Linked DNA regions of Homo sapiens: region 1 is linked to region 2. The links are contacts of gene promoters, found by promoter capture Hi-C in human tissues and cell types (Jung and others, 2019). All regions are on one chromosome and are shown on one strand. The core of a region is centred on a gene start or on the middle of the fragment in contact, and the rest is flanking DNA. Distances in the headings are between cores, read along the strand shown. Region 1 overlaps DZANK1 (double zinc ribbon and ankyrin repeat domains 1). Region 2 holds the start of DZANK1 (double zinc ribbon and ankyrin repeat domains 1).

What was found. The method cuts DNA at HindIII sites, captures the fragments that hold promoters and counts their contacts. A contact is called where the count stands out against the background at its distance.
Region 1: a fragment that was not itself captured here is called in contact with the fragment with the promoter of DZANK1 in region 2 in 2 of the 25 tissues and cell types used here (dorsolateral prefrontal cortex and mesendoderm cells).

The regions. Positions count from the first base shown.
Region 1 is chr20:18,413,319-18,416,411 of GRCh38, reverse strand. DZANK1 (double zinc ribbon and ankyrin repeat domains 1) reads left to right here. Exons shown (of 21, transcript NM_001367614.1): 11 at 963-1,085; 12 at 1,900-2,064. Among named protein-coding and RNA genes, the nearest start is that of LINC00851, 36 kb to the right of the region's middle. RefSeq lists a silencer at 2,861-2,910. The HindIII fragment of the contact is 5,054 bases long and covers 1-3,093 here.
Region 2 is chr20:18,464,901-18,468,279 of GRCh38, reverse strand. It overlaps DZANK1 (double zinc ribbon and ankyrin repeat domains 1), which reads left to right and starts at 1,250. Exons shown (of 21, transcript NM_001367614.1): 1 at 1,250-1,284; 2 at 2,903-3,030. The coding sequence starts at 2,922. POLR3F (RNA polymerase III subunit F) reads right to left here and starts at 890. Exons shown (of 9, transcript NM_006466.4): 1 at 712-890. The coding sequence starts at 773. RefSeq lists enhancers at 810-1,129, 752-1,370. The HindIII fragment of the contact is 23,548 bases long and covers 1-3,379 here.

The sequences.
Region 1 (3,093 bases), core at 574-3,073, 52 kb after region 2:
AGTCCTTTCTCCTGAAGAAATCAGGGTCTAGTGGAAAGGAAGGTGGGACCGGAAGGAAGCTGGCCGGTGGAGCTTGGCCCTGTGCTAAGCATTCCTATCCACTTAACTGTGGGTAATCGTCTGAAACTCCCTACAGACCTGGGAGTAAGCTATTGTATTGAAGGGGCTGTATGGAGTCAGGGAGAGAAGCCAGGCTTTAGAGTCAGATGGCTCTAATCGTGCATCTCACCCTCTCTGTGTCCCCAAGCTCTCCCTCTGTAAGATGGGGACAATGACAGCACCCACCTCCCAGGTCTACAGTGGGACTGACGTGAGGGTGCAGGGCAGTGTGGGAATGGAGCCTGCACATGGTGGGTGGTCAGGTAGCAGCCACTGTGCTGTCACTCCCATTTGGGAAGTGAGCAAGTCTCCTACCAGGCAATAGTGAGGAAGCAACAGATTCAAATATAGGTTTACCTAACATAGTCCCAGGAATTCTCACAAAACAATTCTGCCTCTGTCCCCAATATAAAATAATTGTTCTCATGTGTCAAGAATGGGAAATGAAGTCACATTTTTCTATGGAAACCAAAACTCCAAAGGATAGAAGATAAGCCTCAATCATGACCGCTCAGGTAGCTTAGCTCTCTTCTTCCTTCATTAATATTGTTCTGTTAAATCAACAGTAGGGCTTGCTATCCCTGATATTAAAGATATTGAAAAATATTAAGATGTGCAAGGTACCAGTTTCATTGACTTTCTGTTATCTCCATGAAGGAATGTGAGCTCTATGTACTAATTTATTAATTGGTGAAACTCATCATAGCTGTACTCCTTTGGGAAAAAAACAAAACAAAACAAAACAAAAAAAACACTATTTCCGGGGCTCATCTTGTCTGGGAATTTTTTATCTTTTTTGAATTGGGAGGGGGATTAGAGAATATAGTACTGATCCTGCCTTTAAATGCCATTTCATTCACCAGTCGATGTGCAGTGGGGATAAAGCCCCTCCTCCGCCCACTCAGAAAGGGGGGACCATTTCCTGCTACAGATGTGGTCGCTGGAATCTCTGGGAGGCGTCCTTCTGCGGCTGGTGTGGAGCCATGGTGGGTATTTTAAAACTGAGATTCTGTATACTGAGCACCTCACCACTGGCCTGGAGAGAGCCAGGCACTTCTTCCATGGCCTTGCAGAAATCACTTCTTGTGATTTCGCTACTGGTACCTATAACCTAAGAATCTGGAGATAGAGATAATTAATTATCTTACACTGAGAGCCATCTCTGATGACTGTTTTGACTTGCATTTCTTTGAGGTTAAACCTTTTCACTCGTTTATTGACTACTGGCATTTTTTAAAATGAATTATGTCTGCCTGCCTTTATAATAAAACACTCAAGACTATGTATTTATTTAAGTATCGCATGCAAATAACAAAAAAGTTTTAGAGTGAAGGGTTAGTCTCCTCTCTCTCTAAGTCCCACAGTTCTCCTCTCAGAAGCAATTGCTCAGATCCAGTTCTTGAGATGTTCTTTCAGCTATTCAATGCATGTATAAGTAAACTGGTGCTATGAACACTGACCCAATTATTTTCACCTAGCAAGGTGTCTTGTTAGTAACCTCCTCATTCTTTTCAGTGACTTCATAATCCATTGTTTGTATGTATGTACTGTGTTATATTTAGACCATCCCTATTGCTGGACATGTGTGTTGTTTTCAGTGATTTCTTTTAAAACCACAGTGTTTTAGGGGTTGACCTGGAGTACACTTCTTTCTGTACTTGTCCATCTGTAGGATAAATTCTGGAAGGTAGAATGGCTGGGTCAGAGAGTCTGGGCATATGTTAATTTGTATGGTATGAGAATAATTTACATGAGGAAATTATAACTCTAATATTCATCAAGATATTTTCTATCCTCTAGCTCGGCATTCCTGCTGGCTGTTCTGTTTGCCCTAAATGTGGGGCCAGCAATCACCTGTCTGCCCGATTCTGTGGCTCCTGTGGTATTTGTGTGAAGTCCCTAGTGAAACTTAGCTTGGACAGAAGCCTGGCTCTAGCTGCTGAGGAACCTCGCCCTTTTTCTGAGGTGAGGCCTCCCCTGTAGTAAGAACTGGTACCCAGGAAGAGGCTGTAACTCTGAATGTGTGTGCTCCACCCTGTGAATCAACCCGGGGAAGAGACCCAAAACTTTTAGAACTTTCACATGGAATTTCAACTAGGTGTGTAAATAAATGCAGTCAATTTAGATTTTAATTGCATTTGCAAGGCCGTAGACATAATGCCACTTTAGTGGCTTTAAAATACATGAGACAGAATGCACTTCTCTTGAATTTCTTATGTAGCATTCTGAGAACTTTTCCTTCCCCTTTTTTATATTTTAGAAAGCTTAGGGTATATAAGATTGCTTTTGTAATTTATAACAGCTGGGCATAGTTTGAGGACAAATCTCACCAGGTTATTTTCAGAAGTACTTAAGCTCTAACAACTGGCTTTGTGTTAGATTTTTATAATTTTATACATTTCTCTAAGCTGGATAAAGACTTTCCATGTTTCTTCTTATCTCTTTATTATAAGAAGTTAAAGATTGATCATTATTAGAGGATACACTCAGCACTTTGTATGCAGTTTTAGGGAGTTCATGACCTTTTTTTTTTGAGACAGAGTCTCGCTGTGTTGCTCAGGCTGGAGTGCAATGGTGCAATTTTGGCTCACTGCAACCTCTGCCTCCCAGGTTCAAGCAATTCTTCTGCCTCAGTCTCCTGAGTAGCTAGGATTACAGGCCCGTGCCACCATGCCCGGCTAATTTTTGTATTTTTAGTAGAGATGGGGTTTCACCATGTTGGTCGGGCTGATCTCGAACTCCTTACCTCGTGATCCACCCACCGTGGCCTCCCAAAGTGCTGAGATTACAGGCATGAGCCACCATGCCCAGCCGTTCATGGCTTTCTTAACCCAGTTTGAAAGATTTAAATCCTAAACTGCCACTAGCCCTTATTCCTTTGTGCAAATGAAACAAAGGTGTTCTTTTCTCAAGACACTTGACTGCCATCTATTGGAAATTGCTTGTAATATACTGGTTTCTCTACTAGAAAAATTACCCTAATACATATGCAAA
Region 2 (3,379 bases), core at 1-2,500:
CATGGTGAAACCCCGTCTCTACTAAAACATAAAAAATTAGCTGGGCGTGGTGGCGCGAGCCTGTAGTCCCAGCTACTCGGGAGGCTAAGGCAGGGGAATCGCTTGAACCCGGGAGGCGGAGATTGCAGTGAACCGAGATCGCGCCACTGCACTCCAGCCTGGCGACAGAGCGAGACTCTGTCTCACAAACAAACAAATAAAAATAAAAGTGGCAGAGGCTTTGGGTGTCCTAAAAGTCTTGAGTTCAATACTGCACTGAAACCACCTGGCTTAATGTTACTTCGTAATCACCAACTGCGCCCTAACTCCGCCTAAACGTTTTGTCATAGACGTTCCCTTAGTGACAAGAGCGATCCTGGATCAGAACATGTATTCACAAGTGTTCTACAGGGAAAGAAAGCCGAGGGCTCCTCTCAAAGCACTGATCGCGTCAAAGTAGGAAGGCAGCACGTCATCACAACTTCCCCAAAAGTATCAGGGCAAAGCCAGCCAGCTACACAAAGTTGCAAGCTGTCAAACCCATTTTGAACTTCTTGAGTTCTGCTCTCCCAGGATGGGAAGGAACAAGTGGGTCCAGAACCCCGCAATCGTTTTTCCCGCGTGCTCACCTAACCCGCTCCGGCCACTCCCAAGGGATCCCGGAGAAGGGGTCCAGCTGCCCAAATGACTGGGCGCCTGATGGAGTGCCAAGCCGGAGCCTCACTGGTTTACCTGTTTTCTATTTCGACCGGATCCGCGTCAGGCGGCTGCACCTTCACCTTCACCTCCGCCATGAGGGCGCAGTTCCTGACGCCTGGGGGGAAAGATGCACGGAGCAGCCCGGTAGCAAGCCGGGGAACCCGGGGAACCAGTGGAGGATAGCGCTCTGCTGAGGCCGAGGGGCCTTCTTCCTCGTGTCGCAGCCGGTCCTTCCTTGCCTTTCGGCGGGAGGTGGCCAAGCTGCGCCTGCTCCGGCCCACTTACAGGCGCCGCTACAGCTTCTTATTCTTGTTTTCCAGAATGTCAATGCCCATCGGACGCACAAGCCTGGTTCCTTCATTCTGAGTTGGGAAACCAACTTTTAGCACTTGGCAACTCTGTGAAGGAATATTCTTAGATGCCTATGGGAAAGCACTGGGAAAGGAACTCCAGGCGGGTACCAGGCTCCCTGCGGAGCGGCAGGGGCCGGTCTAGTTGCTAAGAAGCTGAGTCTCCACCAATCATCTGCCCAGCACCCAGTGGGCGGGGCGCGGCTCGCCGCGTCTGTGGTAACCCGGGCGGCGGCGAAGGAGGAGGCAAGAGGCGGTGAGAGGCTGGCGACTGGGTTGGGCGCGGCAGAGATGCATTAGGGGTCCCGATCCCGGGCCCCGCGGTTAGAGGAAGAGGAGGGCGGCTAGAGGAGGGGAAGAGCTTCCCTTACTCCAGCCGAAAGGATGCAGGTGTCCTTGGCAGCCCCTGATGGGCGGGAACAACCAAACGGGATTCCGGATCCGGGCTGCGAGGGGGCGGTCCACGTTGGGAGAGTTGAGGGGTCTGGGGATCCTGTTGACTGCACGTTGCCATTTGGGCCTGGCGGATCCGCCTTTTTTCTTGATTCCCTTTGCGTGGGGCCCACTGGCCACCCCAGCTTCCTAAGGGCAGCTGCTAGTTGACGCTCGCGAATTACTTCCTCTCCTACATATTTTTTATTTAGAATTTTTCAACTACTTTTATTTTATCTGCCTTTCACTTAAATGGAAATGCGACTATGGGCAAGTCTCAAGTCCAGCCACACTCCCGTAGGAGCTATTGTTGTGCTGTCAGTATCTGTAGTTTATATTCTTGGCCCTAGATCCGGAACTATCCAACAAGGCATTAAGTTCACCCCTTAAATTTAGGTACCCCATTTTTGAGAATACAGTCTGTGACAAAGCTCAAACTGCAGACATGTTCAGATCAGCATTATTAGAACTGCAACAGGCAAAACTAAAAAGAAACTAGAAATAGCCTAAATGCCCAGCCACAAATGGATAAATAAGTACAGGGAAAACTAAATAATACAGTGAGAATGCAAGAAGTAGACTATAAAAATGGAATGAATATGTAGATTATAATTGGGCAAAATCTATGGATTATTAATGAAATTTGAAAAGGCAATACAGAGATGTAAATGGTTGTTGTGTTAAGGTGAGCGTTTTTTCCCCCTGAAACCTTCTGTGCATTAATTATGACAACCTTCCTCCCCACCCTCACCTCCAAAAAGACCAGTAAGGCTTTCATACTGGTAGTTAATTATTAATACCAGGATTTATAAATACAGTAGATGAAACGGGAGGCTTGTGTTTATTGGTCACTGTTTATATTCTTGCAAACTTCCTTTCCACTGAGAAGTAGTACTCTGCAGTCCTTCTAAAGTGTCTTTGCAGCTTTCAAATACTAGAACTGCTCTGGTGATAATGGCAAGGCTGTGAACCCGGAGCTTTCCCAAAAAAGTTAGCTCTAACTAACATTTTGTGGTACACACAGAATTACTTCTGTTCCCCTTGTATGATGACTTGCCCTGAAGCCAAGAGAGCTGACACACACCAGAGGCAGGAAAAGGCGATAATGATTTACAGGGAACTCAAGTCAGAGCGTTAGTGATAGTCTCTGTTTTGCCTTACTCATTTAATTTGTCCTTTTAAAGTAACTTCTTTCTTTTCCCCATCTCATTCATTCATGCTCCTTTCGCAGAAGTGAGGTATTTAGATAATCAAAACCCCACACAAGACCTCAACAGCAAATACAGATGAAATGTAATTATTATTTCAATTAAAAAGGGAATAATATTTGTAGTGCCATGTTAACAGTATTCTCTCGTTTTAACTAGTTTTGCTGCATTTAAATTAAGTGCTGCTCTTCAGCTTTTGTGTACATTGGAATTTATATGTATATATATATAGAGAGAGAGAGAGAGAGAGAAAATGACTGCTGGTTCAGTGTGTGTCCCTCAGATCATACCATTACGAGTGCCTCAGCCTGGAAAAGCTAACCATGAAATTGATAACAATACGCTTTTGGAAATGAAATCAGGTAAGAATCACATATGTTTGAAATTGTTTAAAATAACATTGTCATATTTCTTGTGTTATCTGGTTGCTGGTTTATCTCTTTGCCTGCTTTCTCACTCTTTGCTCAGCTTTTTGGGAAATTTGTAAAACTTCTAAAATTTGAAACAGTGCTGTACATTGATGGTTTATAGAGTGGTATACATTTAGATTAAAATGGTTAGCTTTGACCAACCTTTCATTTGTATAGTTTCAGCAATGTCTTGACTTACCTTAGCCAAGGTAAGATGTCCCGGTGCTGGCCGGGTGCGGTGGTTCACACCAGTAATCCCAGAACTTTGGCAGGCCGAGGCAGGTGGATCACTTGAGGTCAG